Linked DNA regions of Homo sapiens: all the other regions are linked to region 1. Evidence: promoter capture Hi-C in 16 types of primary human blood cells and fetal thymus (Javierre and others, 2016). All regions are on one chromosome and are shown on one strand. The core of a region is centred on a gene start or on the middle of the fragment in contact, and the rest is flanking DNA. Distances in the headings are between cores, read along the strand shown.

Region 1 (3,489 bases), core at 814-3,313:
AGGTGGGAGAATTGCCTGATTCTGTGAGGTCGAGGTAGAGTGAGTCATGATCCCACCACTGCATTCCAGCCTGGGCGACACAGCGAGACCCTGTCTCAAAATAGAGAAAAATTTTTCCAAAGGAAAAAAAAACTATGCTACACTGACGCTTCAAAAAGGTTACAGGGTCAGGCATGGTGGCTCACACCTGTAATCTCAGCCCTTTGGGAGGCTTAGGTGGGAGGATCGCTTCAACCCAGGCGTTTGAGACCAGCCTGGGCAATATAGTGAGACTCCTTTAGAAAAAAGCTCCAAAAATCAAACAAACAATTAAAAAAGTTACTGAATAGTATTCACAGTAGGGGTACATTTTTGTATAATAAATACAAATATTCATACAAAAAAAGGTACAAAAGGTTTTATAAACCAAACTATTAAGTTTTTAATCTATGATTCCTTTTTTACAATATATAACACTTGTATAGCAAAACCTTTTTGAATCTGCTTTTAAAGTTTAATTTTAGGCCGGGTGCGCAGTGGCTCACGCCTATAATTCCAGCACTTTGGGAGGCTGAGGCCAGCAGATCACCTGAGGTCGGGAATTTGAGACAAGCCTGGCCAACACGATGAAACCTGTCTCTACTAAAAACAGAAAACATTAGCCAGGCGTGGTGGTGCGCGCCGGTAGTCCCAGCTACTCGGGAGGCTGAGGCACAAGAATCGCTTGAACCAGGAGGTGGAGGTTGCAGTGAGTTGAGATCGCACCACTGCACTCCGGCCTGAGTGACAGAGCAAGGCTCTGTCTCAAAAAGAAAAAGAAATCATTTAAAAAATTTCATGTGTGACCCTACCAAATAACCTTTAAAAACAAAAGCAGAAAAACCAAATTGTTTGTGTAAGCATATATTCTACCTATAAACTACATTCCAGGTCACAAGTCAATATTCCATCTTTCAACTCATCCAAAAAAAAAAAAAAAAGGGGTTAAACAAGCTGCAGCAGCACCGCCCTACATACAGTACATCCACGGTCAACGACTTCATCAACTACTAGAAACTTGCACAGACTCTGTTCCTAGTTAGGAACAAATGTACACTATTGATAAACTTCACCTTTACAATTAACAAGAACTCCTGTGTGCAATTACTTACCCTCCACTGAGTGGGCGACAATAAGAGTGCCTATTTCAGAGATTACATTTAGTGTCTGTACTAAGGCAACCGGATGCAAAACAACTTACTCTGCGGCTACCCACTTGAGAGGGCAAAGGTGGACTGGGAAGGCCAGCCAGCCGGGCGTCTCTAAGGTTTAACGAGACGCGAGCTCGGGCTTGGCGTTTCTCATCCTCATCTTGGGGCTGTAACAACACCCTGGAAGCGTCTGTGGTTGAAAATGCGGAACACCTGGCGTCTCCCAAGGCGCTCCCCAGTCCGCCCCGCATCGGGCCGGCTTCCACATTCACCCTGTCAAGGGCACGTCCCCTCTCCATAGGCTGGGGAGCGCTGCACCCCGCAAGCGCACGAGGCGCCGGCTCGGCCCCAGGCCCAACAGGTGCGGGTCCGGGTCCGCGCGGGTGCGTGCCCCCACGTACCTTCGAGGGGTGTTGAGGAGCCGCTGCTGCTCGTCCCCCTCCTCCTCATCCTCGTCCGTCTCCGAGTCAGGGTGACAGTAGCAGAAGGACCCGCTGCTCCGCTTGCGCTTGTGGCTGCCCGCACAGTAACAGAATCCGTGGCCCGCCGCATCGTCTCCAGTGTCCGGCCTCCGGGCCGAGCCCCCCGCCCTGGCACCCTGCGCCTGCTGGGCAAGGGCTGGTCTTGGCTGGCGCAGCACCCGGCTGCTCAACGATCCCATGGGTCACGGCTCCCCGAGACTTCAGGGAGCCCAGAGAAGGGGGTCTCCCGCCATGGCTCGGCCGCCGCCGCCAGCCTTCCCCGAGCGCAGGTGCCTACACCGCCACCTTCTCACGCGCAGCCCCAACCGTTGCAGCGGACGCCACAGTCTCCATCCTCTTCCCCGCCCGCAGCGTCCGGTCGCGCCGCGCTCTAGCACCGCAGCACCTCGCCCCCTCGCTTTCGCAACAAAGCGCGGGACGGAGGGCGCATGCGTACGGCGAGCCTCCGGAAGGGGCGGGGCAAGGCGTGCGTGCGTGGCAGGTGGAGCCTGCGCACAATCCGGCGCGCCAGTGCAGGCTGGTGTTTTCGGGCCTGCGGTGGGCGTGGCCTCTGACTAACCCGAACTTCGGCGTAGACGTAGTGTTAAACCGTGGTTCATACGCGCCTCTGTAGTGGCAAGACCTGGGACTCCAGTCACTCATTGTTTCTACAAAGGTGCCTTGAGTCCCCGGTGCTTATGGGCCTGTGCTAAGCTAGTGGCAAAACCCCGAAGCTATTTGGTCTCCTTGCGGGAGCTCGGCGCTTGCTGGGGCCACGCTCTGCTTGCTTGGGCGTGGCCTCCTGTGAGAGGGGGCCCTAGGATGAGGCGATATGCTGGATTCCTGGGCTTCCTTAACATGAGCCCTCCCCTGCTGTAGACGTGAATGGAACCCGTTAAGTTATGGGAACGTTCCCGGCACTCCTTTCCTTTCCTCTCAAGTGCCAGTGGGATGTCCGAATAGGGTCTGGCACCATGACTGTCTGGACTCAAAAGTGCCTTCAGGAGGCCCTAGCAAAATTTACTAGTGTCTGCTTGGAGTAGTAGCAGCTCTTGTGATGGACTCCGGACAGCCAGCGTTCATTCCCTGACTCCCTTCTGTTACTTTTTAAGTAAAATAATGAAAATATTTCAAATAGAGTAATACAGATTCCTGTGGACCGACCACTAGCTTGAAATTTTATCAGACTTGCTTTCATTCTTTTTTCCTCCCAGCTTTATTGAGGTGTAATCAATGATTCATTCTTTTTTAAATAGAACAATACATATAGGCAGAAGCCCCTGCGTACCTCCTCCATCTCATTCTGTCTCCCTCCCCAGTGGCAATCACTGTGCTGAGAATGTTGTATATCATGTCCATGCATGTCCTTATATGCATACCCATAAATAATATTTTCTTTTGCATGTTTAGACATATCATGGAATGGAATCATAGTTGTACCTCTCATTGTGCACCTTTCTCCTCTCTCAAAATTATACTCTCAAGATTTATCCATTTGGTCAATCGCTAGATAATTTTCACTGCTCATTGTATGACTGACCCATATTTGTTTTTACATTCCTTAGTGAGAGAGGTTATTTCTACTTTAACGGCCTTACAGAGCAGCAATGAACATCATGTGCAATGGATTCACCAAGCAGATTCCCAAAAGTGAATTTGCTGCGAAATCTGCAACTTTGTTAGCTATTACCAAATTGCTCTCTGGGTTGATTGCATCAAGGTACCAATTTAGACTCCCATTGGCAGTATACGTAGTTTGAGGGTCCCCGTGGACTAATGTCTGATTCATGCATGAGAAATCTGAACCGAGAGAGGCTAGCCGAGGCAGCTTGGGGTGGAGGTGGGAGGCGGAGAATAAT
Region 2 (3,391 bases), core at 385-2,884, 180 kb after region 1:
CAGCACTTTGGGAGGCTGAGGTGGGCAGATCACCTGAGGTTGAGAGCTCGAGACCAGCCTGACCAACATGGAGAAACCCCATCTCTACTAAAAATGCAAAATTAGCTAGGCGTGGTGGCACATGCCTGTAATCCCTGCTACTCAGGAAGGCTGAGGCAGGAGAATCGCTTGAACCTGGGAGGCGGAGGTTGCGGTGAGCCAAGATTGTGCCATTGCACTCCAGCCTGGGTAACAGAGCAAAACTCCATCTCAAAAAAAAAAAAAAAGAAAAGAAAGAAAGAAAATTAAAAATTAAAAAAATCAAGAAACGTCTTTTTTTTTTTTTTTTTTTTTTGAGACTGAGTCTTACTCTGTCTCCCCAGATGGAGTGCAGTGGTGCACTCTCGGCTCACTGCAAGCTCCGCCTCCTGGGTTAAAGTGATTCTCATGCCTCAGCCTCCCGAGCTGGTATTACAGGTGCATGCCACCATGCCCGGCTAATTTTTGTATTTTTAATAGAGACGGGGTTTCACCATGTTGGCCAGGCTGGTCTTGAAGTCCTGACCTCAAGTGATCCACCTGCCTCGGCCTCCCAAAGTGTTGGGATTACGGGCATGAGCCAGCATGCCTGGGCAAGAACTGTCATTTTTTTAAAAAGGACATGGTTCTTACAAGTTCGCTTCTGCTAAACAGTGGTTCTCAAACTTGAATGTGTATTAGAATTACCTGAAAGGTTTGTGAACAGAAACTGCTGCCTCTGCCCCTCCCTCTTACTCAGTAGGTCTGGATGGGGCCCCAAAATTTGCATTTCTAACAAGTTCCACTTCGCTAAAAGACGGCAACATAGAAAGCCCATATGGTGTAATGAAAATGATGTGGGTTTTGAGGTCAGTCTTGGCTCTGCCCTTTTTAAGATGTTTTGTAGAAATAGTTGACAGACTCTAATCCTGCTCAGCCTCTGTTTCCACACCAATAAAAGTAATGCACACTTCATAGATGTATTGTGAGGGTTAAATGGTATGATTAAATACCCAACATAGTGCTTGACTCAGTTAAGGATTTTAATTAATGGTGGTCCCCTTTCCTTTGATTTCCTCAAAGATACAGCACACTGGGTTTATGGTAACATGATTTAGGTGTACCACAGGTCAAATCATTTCCTTCAAACTTAACAAACCATACATGTTCATCTGCTACTAACAAAATCTTCATTGTTCATCTATAAAATTGGGAATAATAGTGTAACAGTATTTTCTTTGATAAAATAGATAATACTGTCTACTTTGTAGGCAACCATGAAGATTAAATAAAATAATATCAGTCAGGCACGGTGGCTCACATCTGTAATCTCAGCACTTTGGGAGGCTGAGGTGGGAGGATCACCTGAGTCCAGGAGTTTGAGGTCAGCCTGGGCAACAAAGCAAGACCCCATCTCTATTTTTTATATAATTATTTTTTTTAAAAAGTGGCTGGGCGTGGTGGCTCATGCCTGTAATCCCAGCATTTTGGGAGGCCAAGGTGGGTGGATGGCCTGAGCTCAGGAGTTCAAGACCACCCTGGGCAACATGGTGAAACCCTGTCTCTACTAAAATACAAAAAATTAGCCAGGCATGGTGGCACACACCTGTAGTCCCCGCTACTCGGGAGGCTGAGGCACAAGAATCGCTGGAGCCTGGGAGGCAGAGGTTGCAGTGAGACGAGATCACGCCACTGCACTACAACTTGAGCTACAGAGTGAGACTCTGTCTCAAAAAATAAATAAATAAATAAATAAATAAATAAATAAAATAAAAATAAAACAATAAAACAATATATATATATTTTTTAAATTCCATAACTGGCATATGGAAGATACATAGTGTTAACTGAAGAATCCCAAGGTTTATAAATTTGGAGAGGGGAGCTTTACTTTTTATAAAGGGTTGCAGCCTGCAGGCTGGTGATCCTGACAGGCTGGGAAGTGTAGACTCTGGCAGAGACTGAAAGCAGGTATTTAGAGGGAGGAAAAAGTGGAACACAAATTTATGCCAAATGAGTTGGCTAAGAATACACACTTAAGTTACAGGAGCTTTGATTATTCACAAAGCGGGGGGCAGCACATGCATGCATAGTGAGCAAACATGCATGTTACATATGTCCTATGTTCTCTTTGGGGTGGAGATTTAACATTTAAATGCATTACAATTAGGTGAAGCAAAGGACATGAAGACACTCAGTGCACAGCCTCTGAAAACCAGCCAGAACCAGTCTGTGGTTGGTAGTCTCTTACTAGGATGTTACTGAAATCAGTCTCTTGTCCAATCAAAGAAATAGTTATGGTTTGTGGAACAGGGGTTGGGGGGATACAGTTAGTCAGCATCTAGTGGTCAGTGAGCTACAATTGATTCAATATTGCTTATCTCCAGGCCAGTGTCTATTTAGCTACCAGAGAAAAAGAAAAACCTTGTGGCAGTTAGAAGATGGTTTACTCTTCAAGTGTAGGGATGTGTGACTTAACCCTTGCCTGACACAGCCTTAGGTCTTGTTTATAATTTGGCATCTTATTGCCTCAAAGAGTCTGTTCCATCGGTCATATGATCACTATTGTAACAATAGTAAATGGCACTTTCTTTTCCCACTCCCTTTGACTATTTACCCATAGCATCTTCCACACCTAGTTCAAAATTCATCTAGGATACTTCAAATCAATCTTTCCACCTTAATCAGATAGCTCTGTTTTGTGTCACATTTAAAGTAAATTATTTACTTTAAGTACTGCTAAGAACACACTCTATGTAAACTATTATACTGGATGCCCAAGGAGATAAGTAGAAGATGGTTCTCTGGCTTTGAGGTGTTTGGTTGAGACAGCAATATACATTAAAAGTTGAACAGGAATGCAAAGCAGCATGGGACAAATTATACAGAAAGTGTGATAGTTTTGAGATTATAGTGGCTGATCTGTTCATTATTTTGTACTCAGGAACTAAAAAATTACTAAGAGTTGTAAGAGCTCTGGTTTTATAGCTGAGATAATAAGCCCAGTGACACAAGTGGTCTAGGATCCCAGCTATGAAGTGGCAAGAGGTTTCCTGTCTCCTGGTCCTATGCTGCTTGTGCGTGGGTTTCTAACTATTCACGAGTCTTTTAATCAGTTAATGTTTGCTCTCTCTAAGTAGACAGTTTAGTATAGCCAGGTAAGAACTGGGCTTTGAAACTAAAATGTTTGGGTTTGAATCCTGGCTTTGCTATTTACTGTGTGACTTTGGGCAAGTCACTAATCTCTTTGCTTTACTTACCCACCTATAAAATGAGTATAATAATGGTACTTTACTTCATAGGGTGGTTGTGAGCATTATATACTTAATATATGTAAAGCATGAAAAACTGTGGATTTGTCATTATAATTGCTATTAGTCTGTGAGGGAATGGA
Region 3 (3,427 bases), core at 266-2,765, 200 kb after region 1:
TTTATTTTACTGTTTATTTTGTTTGTATCTACTTTCTAGTGTTAGATAATTAGTTATTGCCTTAGGCTTATTTTGTATCCAATTGAGTACTCGTAAATTTGAACATGGCAACAGTGGGTACTGGAGAATGAATTAACTGGATGAATATTACAGTAAATCAGTACTAATTAAAACTTGCTGGGCAGGCAGGAGAGACTAGACGGATTTGAGATATACAAACCTCCCTTATTTATCCCTATTCCAATCGTATAATAGATCTGTGTTTGAGGACTTCACCTCGCTTATTACAATAAGAACTATTGAATCTTATAGAGTTTCAGTAAAGTTGAGAAATAACAAAATCCAAAGCAAAGTAGAACATCTTTCAGAAAGCCATGTGAATCTCTATTGATTGGATTAAATTATTGGCGTCTGGTACCATTGATCTCAAAAGTAGAGATATAGGGTGTATCTTAGCTATATAAAGGAACTCTAAACCATTTAAATGCTATACTGTAAAGATGGAGACAATTAGCTCATGTGTCAAAAACTCAGATATTACTGAAATTCATCTTTAAGCAAAGCATACATTCATTTTCTAGTTGATGATTGGCATTGGCCTGCAGTAAATTAGGACAGTGATTTTTAACTTGTATTTGGGGTAGTGAGCATGCAGACAGGTCACAAATAGGAAGGGAATATATAATTTGAAAATGCATAGATTGGCTCCAGGTCCAGCCAGAAAAGGAGAGAACCTCAAAGAAGATGGGGATTGGCTGTATACCCTCTAAAGAGGCACATTATAGACTTAAGAGGTCGGAGTGTGGAGAAGACGTGAGATTTTCATATTTATCAAAGAAGATATGGTTTTTAAAAGACTGATAAATATGGCATTAAGCAGCTGAGTTATAAAATGAGTCTAGAGAGGTGGTACCTGTAGTTGAGTACTGTATGTACCTCTGGGAACAAACATATTTCTTCCTGTTCTTGCTAGTTTCAGAGAGGAGGAGTGAAAAGAGCAATCAACAGCAAATTCTGCGTGGTGGTTTGCTGTGAGCTCCACAGCATTTTTGAAAGGTCAGCTCTAGGTGGCTCGCTCACCAATGATGAGAATTTCCTTGAAAAAAGTTAATTTTAGATCATAGAGACTTCCTCAGAAGATGAAGTATTCCTTTCTCTTTTAAAATCATAGTGTTAGAATCAGTATAACATCAAATGGGTTATTTAAGTGGCTGTCTACTCACCCAGCAATTATGTGGTGATTTTTAAGGTGGTATGACAGAGTGTTGTTCAAGTCTACCATCAAATCCTGCTTCTAGGGTTAGCTCACAGAACACAAATGAACAACTGTATGAGATAGGGAAGTAGGTTATCTGGTCTCTTCAGTGATCTTGGATATATCACTTCCCCTCTCTGAGCTTGTCTTATGTGAATAAGGAGATCACCGGGTGATCTTGAAGGTCTCTTCTAGTGCAAACATGGTTTTTAAGTTCTGTGGTTTTTGTTGACACTATTTGGGAGGGAGAATGAGATTGGGTTGATGAGACGGAAATGTTAGACCTATGTAGCTGGGATAAGAAAACATTAAAAAAAAAAAGAAAAGAAACAGGGTTTTGCTATGTTGCCCAGGCTGGTCTCAAACTTCTGGTTTTAAGCAGTCCTCCCACCTCGGCCTCCCAAAGTGCCAGGATTACAGGCGTGAGCCACCACGCCCAGCCAAGACAATAGTTTTGAGGTGGATTGTTAACCTTGGCCTACGTATGGTCCTCACAGGGAGGTATCATTCTTACTGGAGGTGAAAGATTCCATTCCTTTTTTTCTGCTTTCCTTCTTTCTATATCTTTACCTTAAACTTAGAAAAATCAGTGTTAATAATTAGATGTTGCAGATGACAGAAAGCTAGATTGGATCTTGGGCTACTGGCTTAAGTGACTGGGTAGATAATGGTGTCAATAAAAAGAAGAAAGAATAGTGTTTGAGGAAAAGAGACGGGCTTCAGTTAGGGACTTTTTAATGAGCCATCAGTGGAAATCCAAGTATGGATGTAGTTCAGGATGCTGTTGCATAGGACTGGCCTGCATTGTAGAGAAAAGTTGGAGTGGGAGTTGTCATAAAACCACAAGATAGGAATGAAAACTGAAATGGAGTGAGATCTCATAAGGAGACTGTGTGGAGGAAGAGGAGTCCACCTGGAATAAAATCCAAACTCCTCACACTGACCTGCAAACCCCTACAATAGCTTGTGTCTCTCTTCCCCTCAACCACTTGCTTTTTAGTCACAGTGATTCTTGTTCATCTTTTTTGAGCATAGAACATAGTTTCTTCTTTAGTGTCTAAGGCTTGGCTGGTGCCTTTTCCTGGAATGTTCTTCCTTCTTGTCTTCCCTTGGTTGGCTTTTTGTCATTCAGAGCTCACTTAAATCCCACTTCATAGAGGCTGTCCTTTACCGCCCAGTGTAAGGAACCAATCCTGTTTTATTTCACCGTGTAGCATGTATCAGCAGATTTTCTTGCTTATTATTTATTTATCACTCCCACTCCCCCCACTAGAATTTCAGCTCCATGAGAATCTTTTTTTTTTTTTTTCTCTTTTTGAGACAGAGTCTCACTCTGTCACCCAGGCTGGAGTGTAATGGTGCAGTCTCGGCTCACTGCAACCTCCGTCTCCTGGGTTCAAGCGATTCTCCTGCCTCAGCCTTCCTAGTAGCTGGGACTACAGGCGCCCGCCACCACGCCTAGCTAATTTTTGTATTTTTAGTAGAGACGGGGGTTTCACCATATTGGCCAGGCTGGTCTCGAACTCCTGACCTCAGGAGATCCACCCGCCTCGGCCTCCCAAAGTGCTGGGATTATAATTGTGAGCCACCATGCCTGGCCTCCATGAGAATCTTGTCTGACTTGTTCATGGCTGGATCCCCAGTGTCTAGAATAGTGAGTGCCTGGCACATCTGCAGAGCTCAGTAGAAACCAGTTGAATGAAAGAGTAGGCACATGAAGGAGGCAGAAAGAATGATTGACGGTAGAATCAGGAGGATGTGAAGTGACGAAAATAAATCCTAAGTAAAATTAAAAGAAGAAGGGGCCGAGTGCCCTGGTGGCCCATGCCTATAATCCCAGCACTTTGAGAGGCCAAGGCAGGGGGATTGCTTGAGCCCAGGAGTTCAAGACCAGTCTGGGCAACATGGCAAAACCCTGTCTCTACAAAAAAAAAAAAAAAAAGCCAGGCATGGTGGAATGCACCTATAGTCCCACCTACTTAGGAGGCTGAGGTGGGAAGATCGCTTGAGCCTGGGAGGTTGAAGCTACAGTGAGCTGTGATCGCGCCACCTCACTCCAGGCTGGGAGACAGAGTGAGACCCTGTCTCAAAAAAAAATAATAATAATAATAATTAATTAATTTAATTTTAAAATGGAAGGAATGGACACTTCAGAGTGTTAACTCATTACAG
Region 4 (3,443 bases), core at 283-2,782, 150 kb after region 1:
ATTATTCCATCTTGGGCTTCTATCTTCGCTTACCAAAGTTTATGCTCTTTCTCTATTTCTCCTCACCTTACTGATAACATGTGGAGAAAAAATGTCCTTGTCCCGAAAGTTAGAAGCAGAAGAGAATTGAAGATCTCTGTTTTCTCTATGTCCCCCATTGACAGTGGCCCTACATTTTACCTGATGGGGTTTTTTTTTCTCTTTCTTTCTTTTTTTTTTTTTTTTGAGACAGTCTTGCTCTGTTGCCCAGGCTGGAGTACAGTGGCACAAACATGGCTCACTACAGTCTCAACCTCCTGGTTTCAAGTAATCCTCCCACTGGAACCTCCTGAGTAGCTGGGACTACAGGTGCACACCACCCCACCATGCCTGGATAATTTTTGTATTTTTTGTAGAGATGGGATCTCACCATGTTGCCTAGGCTCATCTTATAGGCATGAGCCACTGCACTCGACCATACCTGGTGTCATTCCTCAAACTTTACTACAAAGACTGTAACACCCAAATTATATCCATCACATAATCTGATAGTTTCAGAATAATGTGAACTTATTTGGAGCTTTAGCCTTTCTGACGCAACTGTGTCCCATGTACATTCGGGCAGATGTAATGGCAATTTGATGGTAGGATAGATATTTGATAAGAGATTCCTTTCATGAGTTGTGACACCACATCCTTGTTTGAATTTGCAACAAGCTCCCTACTTTCTAAAGTGAAGCATGGTATAGAGTAGTCTTAAGCTTTTCAATTAATTGGACTTGAGAATTTTTCATCTTAAAATTTTTGAGAAAAACTGTTAATACTTCTGAGCTCGCAAATCACAATCAAGGAGATCCACAAAAATGAAATAATTCAGTATATTTAGCAGCTTTTCTCTTTAATTTTACTTAGCTGATCTTTAACATAACACAACTTAAAACAATCAACTCTTGTTATGCTGCATTCTCTTACCTGGAACTCTCTAAGTTGCCCTTATGCATAGTTCCAAAAAAATGTGAACAATGTTTATGGGTTTTAATCCAGAGGCCCTGAGCTAGGAGATATGAAATCTAGGTTCACCACCGCTTTGTTCTGCCATAACCAGCTGTGCAATCTGGGACAAATTCTCTTGCCTTATTTGTTCACATCTAAGTGTTGTCATAAGTTCCATCCAAATTCAAGAGAACAGAGTAGTACATTACCCAGCTATCTTTCTAAGGGCTCTTGGCTGTCTCCATATACTCTCTAGTAGATGTGTGAGTGTGCAGGTATGTATGGAGGGACAGACTGAAAAACAGTCTGAGTTGGGAGTCTTGGTAGGAAGAGGAAAAGGAGGAGGAGGAGGAGGAAGAAGAAGACAGCGCATATCGTTCCTCTTTGGTTTCTCAGAAGAGGTAATTTCAAAACAAAACTAAGCCAACCTATCAAAACAAGATAATGACAAGGGAGAAAGTAAAGGTTTTTGGCCAAATTCATCTCACAATCATTCTTCCTGTCCCCACAAAGCTATCTGAACTGAGATCTTATTAGCAGACTCCATTTCCAGTAAACATCACTCAATTAGAACAAAAACGGGAAGCTCCCACATGTAGCAGCTGGAAAGAGTCCCAGATGCAGGAAGAGGTTTGTATGACATCATCCAGAGTTATGCAGTAGGAGGGTCTGCAGATTAGAAAATATAGCTCACCTAAGAGTTCTTTTCACTGGGAACTTTTAGCCGCATTTAGCAGGCCTGAGTTTGTTAGAATATATGTTTATTGACATATGTGTGTTTATTTAACCCATATGTAGGAATGTATATACTTCTTGGAAATTATTTAAATGCTAAGGAAAACTTTATTCCTGTCTCTCTGTGTGTATAAACACTTAATTAAAAGACCAGAAAAAAATATAGACAAATACTATTATCCTTGTGCATGTAGAAAAATTTTGTTCCTGTTTTAAACAATAACGTGGATATTTTAGTAAAAATGATACATGCTTACTGTAAAATATTAAACAAATTAGAAAAGCACAAAGAAGATCATAAAAATCATCTGACGTCTCAAGACTGAGAAATAAACACTGACAGCATTTTGTTAAGAACTCTCTAGACCTTTCTCATGCCTGGAGATAGATGTTCACTCTTACATGAGTGGCATGTTCTTGATTTGCTGCACTGTATTTCTCCTTACTTCTCAATGATGTCATTCATCTCTTTAAATGTCACCAAATATAGGGATGTAATGTGACTTCTAAGGACCTCATAGTTTTCCATTTTATTTTGTTTATTTCATATTTTCATATACTTAGTCAATTCCACATTAAAAAAATACAGTTGTTGAGAAAGAACTTGTTAAGCTTCAAAAGAACCATTACATAAAGAATGTGAAGTTATATAAAGAAACTCATTTACACAAGAATCTGTTTTAGTTGTCCCTATTCCAAAAGCTTGAAATAGTGTATGTAAACAATGAGGTACTGTAAACATGTAAAAGGGTATCTTTATTATTACTGAACCATTAAATAAAATTAAATGTTTTAAAAAGCAAGGATGAATCATAAAGTAAAACTCAATAGATTCCACAACATAGAAGAAACGTAAAATATCTTAAAGAAAATTTAAAAAAAATTTATTGAAACAAATGGAAATTGACATAGAACGTACGAAAACCTATGGGATACAGCAAAAGCAGTGCTAAGAGGGGAGTTTATATCAATAAACACCTACATCAAAAAAGTAGGAAGATTTCAAATAAATGATCTAAAGATGCCTTCAAGGAACTGGAAAAGCAAGAACGGGCCAGGCATGGTGGCTCACTCCTGTAGTCCCAGCACTTTGGGAGGCTGAATCAGGAGGATGGCTTGAGCCCAGGAGTTTGAGACCAGCTTAGGCAACATACTTAGGCAACATAGGGAGACCCTGTCTCTACAAAACATTAAAAAAGTTTAGCCAGACACAGTGGTGCACAATTGTGGTCCCAGCCACTTAGGATGCTAAAGTGGGAGGTTCACTTGAGCCCAGAGGGTCAAGGCTGGAATAAGCCATCATAGAGCCATTGTACTCCAGCCTGGGCAACAGAGCAAGACCCTGACTCAAAGGAAAAAAAAAAGCAAGAACAATCCAAACCCCAAATTAGTAGAATAAAATTAATAATAAAGATCAGAGCAGAATTAAATGAAATACAGACTTAAAAAACAATACAAAGGATCAATGAAATGAAAAGTTGTCTTTTTGAAAAAGTAAGCAAAATTGATAAATCGCTAGCTAGACTAACCAAGAAAAAGGAGAGAAGACACAAATAAATAAAATCAGAAATGGGCCGGGCACAGAGGCTCATGCCTGTAATCCCAGCACTTTGGAAGGCCCAGGCAGGTGGACCAACATGGTGAAACCCCATTTCTACTAAAAATACCAAAATTAGCTGGATATGGTGGCACGTGCCTGTAATCCCAGCTACTCAGGAGGCTGAGGCAGGAGAATT
Region 5 (3,367 bases), core at 53-2,552, 230 kb after region 1:
GCTGGGGTAGGGAGGGCTTCATAGTGACACAAGGACTGGGCTGACTCCAGGGAAGAGTGGGAGTTTGTGTGGCACATGCTGGGGCTCTGTAAAAGCCCGGGTGAGACATAAGGCTGAAATTAGTGCTAGGAGGAATTGAGAGTAGGGAATGGATTCAAGAGCATTTTGGAGAAGCATTGATGCAAATTGTTGAAGTACTGTGTGTTGAGACAGAGAGGGAAGAGTCTGAGGTGACTTAAGTTTTCAGCTTGACTGAAAGCATGGTGGCTCCATTAGCCAAAATTTAGAGTCTAGAAGGAGAAAGGTTTTGGCTAGGGTATGTTTAGTGTGAGGTATCTGAGGGACTCCATGCAGAGAGGCTGGGGTGCAGTTGGGGTGTGGCACCCGGGAGAAGCAGTGCCAGAGCTAGAGACGTATTGGACCCTAAGGTGCAGCCCCACTGGACCGCTTGCCACTTCCCCAGTCATCCTCAGCATGTTTTTAAAGTCTCTGCCTCAGCCTGGAGTGTCCCTCTGTTCCTTCTCCATCCTGTGAAATCCCACCCCTGTGTCAGCTCGTATGTTCCTTCAGTGTCTGCTTCAGAATAGAGGTGATGACTTTAAACCTTGCGAGCTTGTGGATTTTGTCCACTGATACTATGGTGGGGCAAGAAGGTAAGAGGGTGAGTTAGCAATGAGCATTTGGAGGTGTCGTGCCCTAGAGGAGGAGAGAAACAGTTGGAGAGGAGAAGAAGCATGAAAGCAATGAGGCCACATGGAAGCTTGGCTGCTCAGCCTCTGCAGAGCTGCCCACCCAGAATTAGACATGACCAGGAGAAGAAATAGGCAGTGAGCTAAATCACAGAAGTTCATGACAACACGAAAGATAAGCATTCACTCTACGTCACCCCAGAGCTCCACCTCCTGTGTAAAGCTGCCTGACATTGAATGGTGTCTGGCCAGCCTGATTAATTTTTAATATTTGATTCTCTGGTGAGGTGGCTAGGCATTGAGGTGCATCAAAGGCAGCTTTTGTTTCTATGAAGTTGGTCAAAATAACACTGGAGAGTCAGGTTACTGCAGCCTTGAGCTCTGGTTGTTCTGAAGGGATGAGATCAGACTCTCTAACTAACCGAGTTTCAGAAGGATCTTTGCCTTTTGCAAGGAAAGTTATTTGGAACTGGAAGTGGGTATGCTTCCTCTTGGATTCTATATCTCTTATTATCGGAAAATACCTCATTTTTCAGCCACAGATAGAAAACAGCATCAGTGCATCAGGTTTCCAATTCTGTCCATGACTCAAATGATGTCTGAGTTCTGAAAACCTGCTGCCAACTCCTGAAACACCAGAGAATTTAAACACAAATGTTCTCTAAATAATATGCTCCTTACGCTGTGTAGCCTGCAAAGCAGATGATGATGATGATGATGATGATGATTTTAATTCTGCACAGTATCTCCTTAATTCTCTAATTTCCCCATCTTTTAAATTGTATACCTAAATGTTCTCTCTTAAAATTTTTTATTTTTTACCCTCTTATCTTTCTACACAGAGCCCTTCATAGCTGAGGATGGATAGTATCTGAGTGGTGAGAACCTACATGTGAGGAGAGCTGCTCTGAAGTGACTCACATGTGGATTTGCGACCTTCTGCAGTGATGGCTGGTTAGGCAGGAGGGGGAAGATCATGGAAAGGGAGGCGATAGTGTGACTCCATTTTATCAGTGGTATGCTTTGTGAGAGCCCACAAGCTAACAGAGGAATTGCCTTTTATTCTCAGAATAGGGTTCTCTCTCTCTCTCTCCTCTGTTTCTTGCGTGCTGGCTCGTGATCTACCTACTTGTAAAGATGCTTTCACAAGCTTGAAAGACTCCACAGTGTCATGGACTGTGAGGAAACTCTATTCTACCCACTTTTGCCTTACTTGGAAATTTTTACAATAATCATGATTACTTTTATAATCAGAAAAGTTATAAACAGTCCCACTGGAAAAATAAACATTTAAAAATCAGGAAAAGATGTTCAAATGTTGAAAATGCCTCTTTATTGAATTTCTAAGTCTTTATCTTTTTTGACTTCCATAACTGATAAATTATTTTAATGAATTTCTTGATATTTGTCCATCCCTCCATCCATTCATCCTTACTTTTTTGAACCAACTTGATTTTGCCATGGTGTCTTATTCTTTTAATGTACTGCCTGATTCAATTTACTAGTAATTTGTAAATGGGATAATACATAGTTTTCTTTTCACCTGTACTGAATGCCAGAGTTTTGGTATTAGGGCTGTACTTAACTTGCTCCATAAAATAAATGAGGAAGCGTTTCATATTTTTCTGTTGCTTTTTAAAAATTTGAAATAATAAATACCATCTTTTTTTAGTGAGCTTAGTTTATGTGAGGCACAATGATTGGAACCCAGATCTGCACAGCTCTGAAGTCTTTGCTCATCCTGTTTGTCACTGCAGTATCAAAGGAGGAAGGCCAGCCTTGGAACCCTGAGTCTCTGTGGTCAGGAGCGCCTCAGGGGGCTGGACTTTTCACTCATCTTGTCCTTTTCTTTTCTTAATTAAAAATTTCATTTTGAAATAATTTCAGTTACATAAACAGTAGAAAAATGATACACAAGATTCACATATACTCTTCACCCAGATTCACCGATGGTTAATATTTTGCTACATTTGTTTTATCATATTTTTCTGAGTTATTTGAAAGTCAGCCACATAATATATAATATCCCTTTATAATTATATACAGTATATAATATAAACATTTTAGTGTATATTTCCTTAAAAAAACAAACTAAACTAATAAAAAACAAAGTATAGATGTCACAATCAGGATATTAACTTTGATATAAACTGTTATCTAATCTGTTTATTCAGATTTTACTAATTGTCCCAGTCGTGCCCGTTGTAGCAAAAGAAAAACATTTTCCTTCGGTTCAGGATTTAATCTGGGATCAAACATTGTGTTTAGTTGTCATGTCTTTTAAATCTCTTTTAATCTGGAACAGCTCCTTAATCTTACATTGTCTTTCATGACCTTGACATTTTTAGTTTACAGGCCAGTTCTACTTTATAGGATGTTCCTTAATTTGAGTGATTTTGATGTTCCCTGTGCTTAGATTTAAGGTATGTGTTTTTGACTGGGATACTGCAATGGTGTGTCTTTCTAGGTGCATCATAACAAGAGGTCCTGATGCCTACTTGTCCCATCACTGATAACCAACCTAAATCATCTAGTTAACTGGTATCTGCCAGGCTTCTCCACTGTTAAGTTACTATTTTTCACTTTGTAATTAGTAAGTATTTTGTAGGGTGATACTTTGTATATAAATCCTCTTCCTTATCAAACTTTCATTTACTAATGCTAGTGTCCATCCTTCT

Evidence for each region. Contacts are between HindIII fragments. The CHiCAGO score rates a contact against its expected background, and 5 or more counts as called.
Region 2: a contact is called between a fragment that was not itself captured here and the fragment with the promoter of GMCL1 in region 1, in 6 of 17 cell types (total CD8 T cells, naive CD8 T cells, naive CD4 T cells and 3 more). The highest score is 7.9, in total CD8 T cells.
Region 3: a contact is called between a fragment that was not itself captured here and the fragment with the promoter of GMCL1 in region 1, in 5 of 17 cell types (naive CD8 T cells, non-activated CD4 T cells, total CD4 T cells and 2 more). The highest score is 7.7, in naive CD8 T cells.
Region 4: a contact is called between a fragment that was not itself captured here and the fragment with the promoter of GMCL1 in region 1, in 1 of 17 cell types (total CD8 T cells). The highest score is 6.0, in total CD8 T cells.
Region 5: a fragment that was not itself captured here is called in contact with the fragment with the promoter of GMCL1 in region 1 in 2 of 17 cell types (naive CD8 T cells and total CD4 T cells); the score reaches 6.0 in naive CD8 T cells.

What each region holds. Positions count from the first base shown.
Region 1 is chr2:69,828,234-69,831,722 of GRCh38, reverse strand. It overlaps GMCL1 (germ cell-less 1, spermatogenesis associated), which reads right to left and starts at 2,063. Exons shown (of 14, transcript NM_178439.5): 1 at 1,571-2,063. The coding sequence starts at 1,830. LOC124906021 (a long non-coding RNA gene) reads left to right here and starts at 2,192. Exons shown (of 2, transcript XR_007086846.1): 1 at 2,192-3,489. RefSeq lists silencers at 1,399-1,574, 1,522-1,601, 1,982-2,211 and enhancers at 1,185-2,105, 2,622-2,711, 2,106-3,027. The HindIII fragment of the contact is 7,336 bases long and covers 1-3,489 here.
Region 2 is chr2:69,645,764-69,649,154 of GRCh38, reverse strand. It overlaps a transcript of ANXA4 not described here. Among named protein-coding and RNA genes, the nearest start is that of AAK1, 3.7 kb to the right of the region's middle. The HindIII fragment of the contact is 9,897 bases long and covers 1-3,391 here.
Region 3 is chr2:69,626,434-69,629,860 of GRCh38, reverse strand. The region is part of intron 2 of AAK1 (AP2 associated kinase 1); the gene reads left to right. Among named protein-coding and RNA genes, the nearest start is that of AAK1, 16 kb to the left of the region's middle. The HindIII fragment of the contact is 6,287 bases long and covers 1-3,427 here.
Region 4 is chr2:69,681,468-69,684,910 of GRCh38, reverse strand. It overlaps a transcript of ANXA4 not described here. Among named protein-coding and RNA genes, the nearest start is that of AAK1, 39 kb to the right of the region's middle. The HindIII fragment of the contact is 1,579 bases long and covers 743-2,321 here.
Region 5 is chr2:69,601,791-69,605,157 of GRCh38, reverse strand. All of the region lies in intron 2 of AAK1 (AP2 associated kinase 1), which reads left to right. Among named protein-coding and RNA genes, the nearest start is that of AAK1, 40 kb to the left of the region's middle. The HindIII fragment of the contact is 1,079 bases long and covers 763-1,841 here.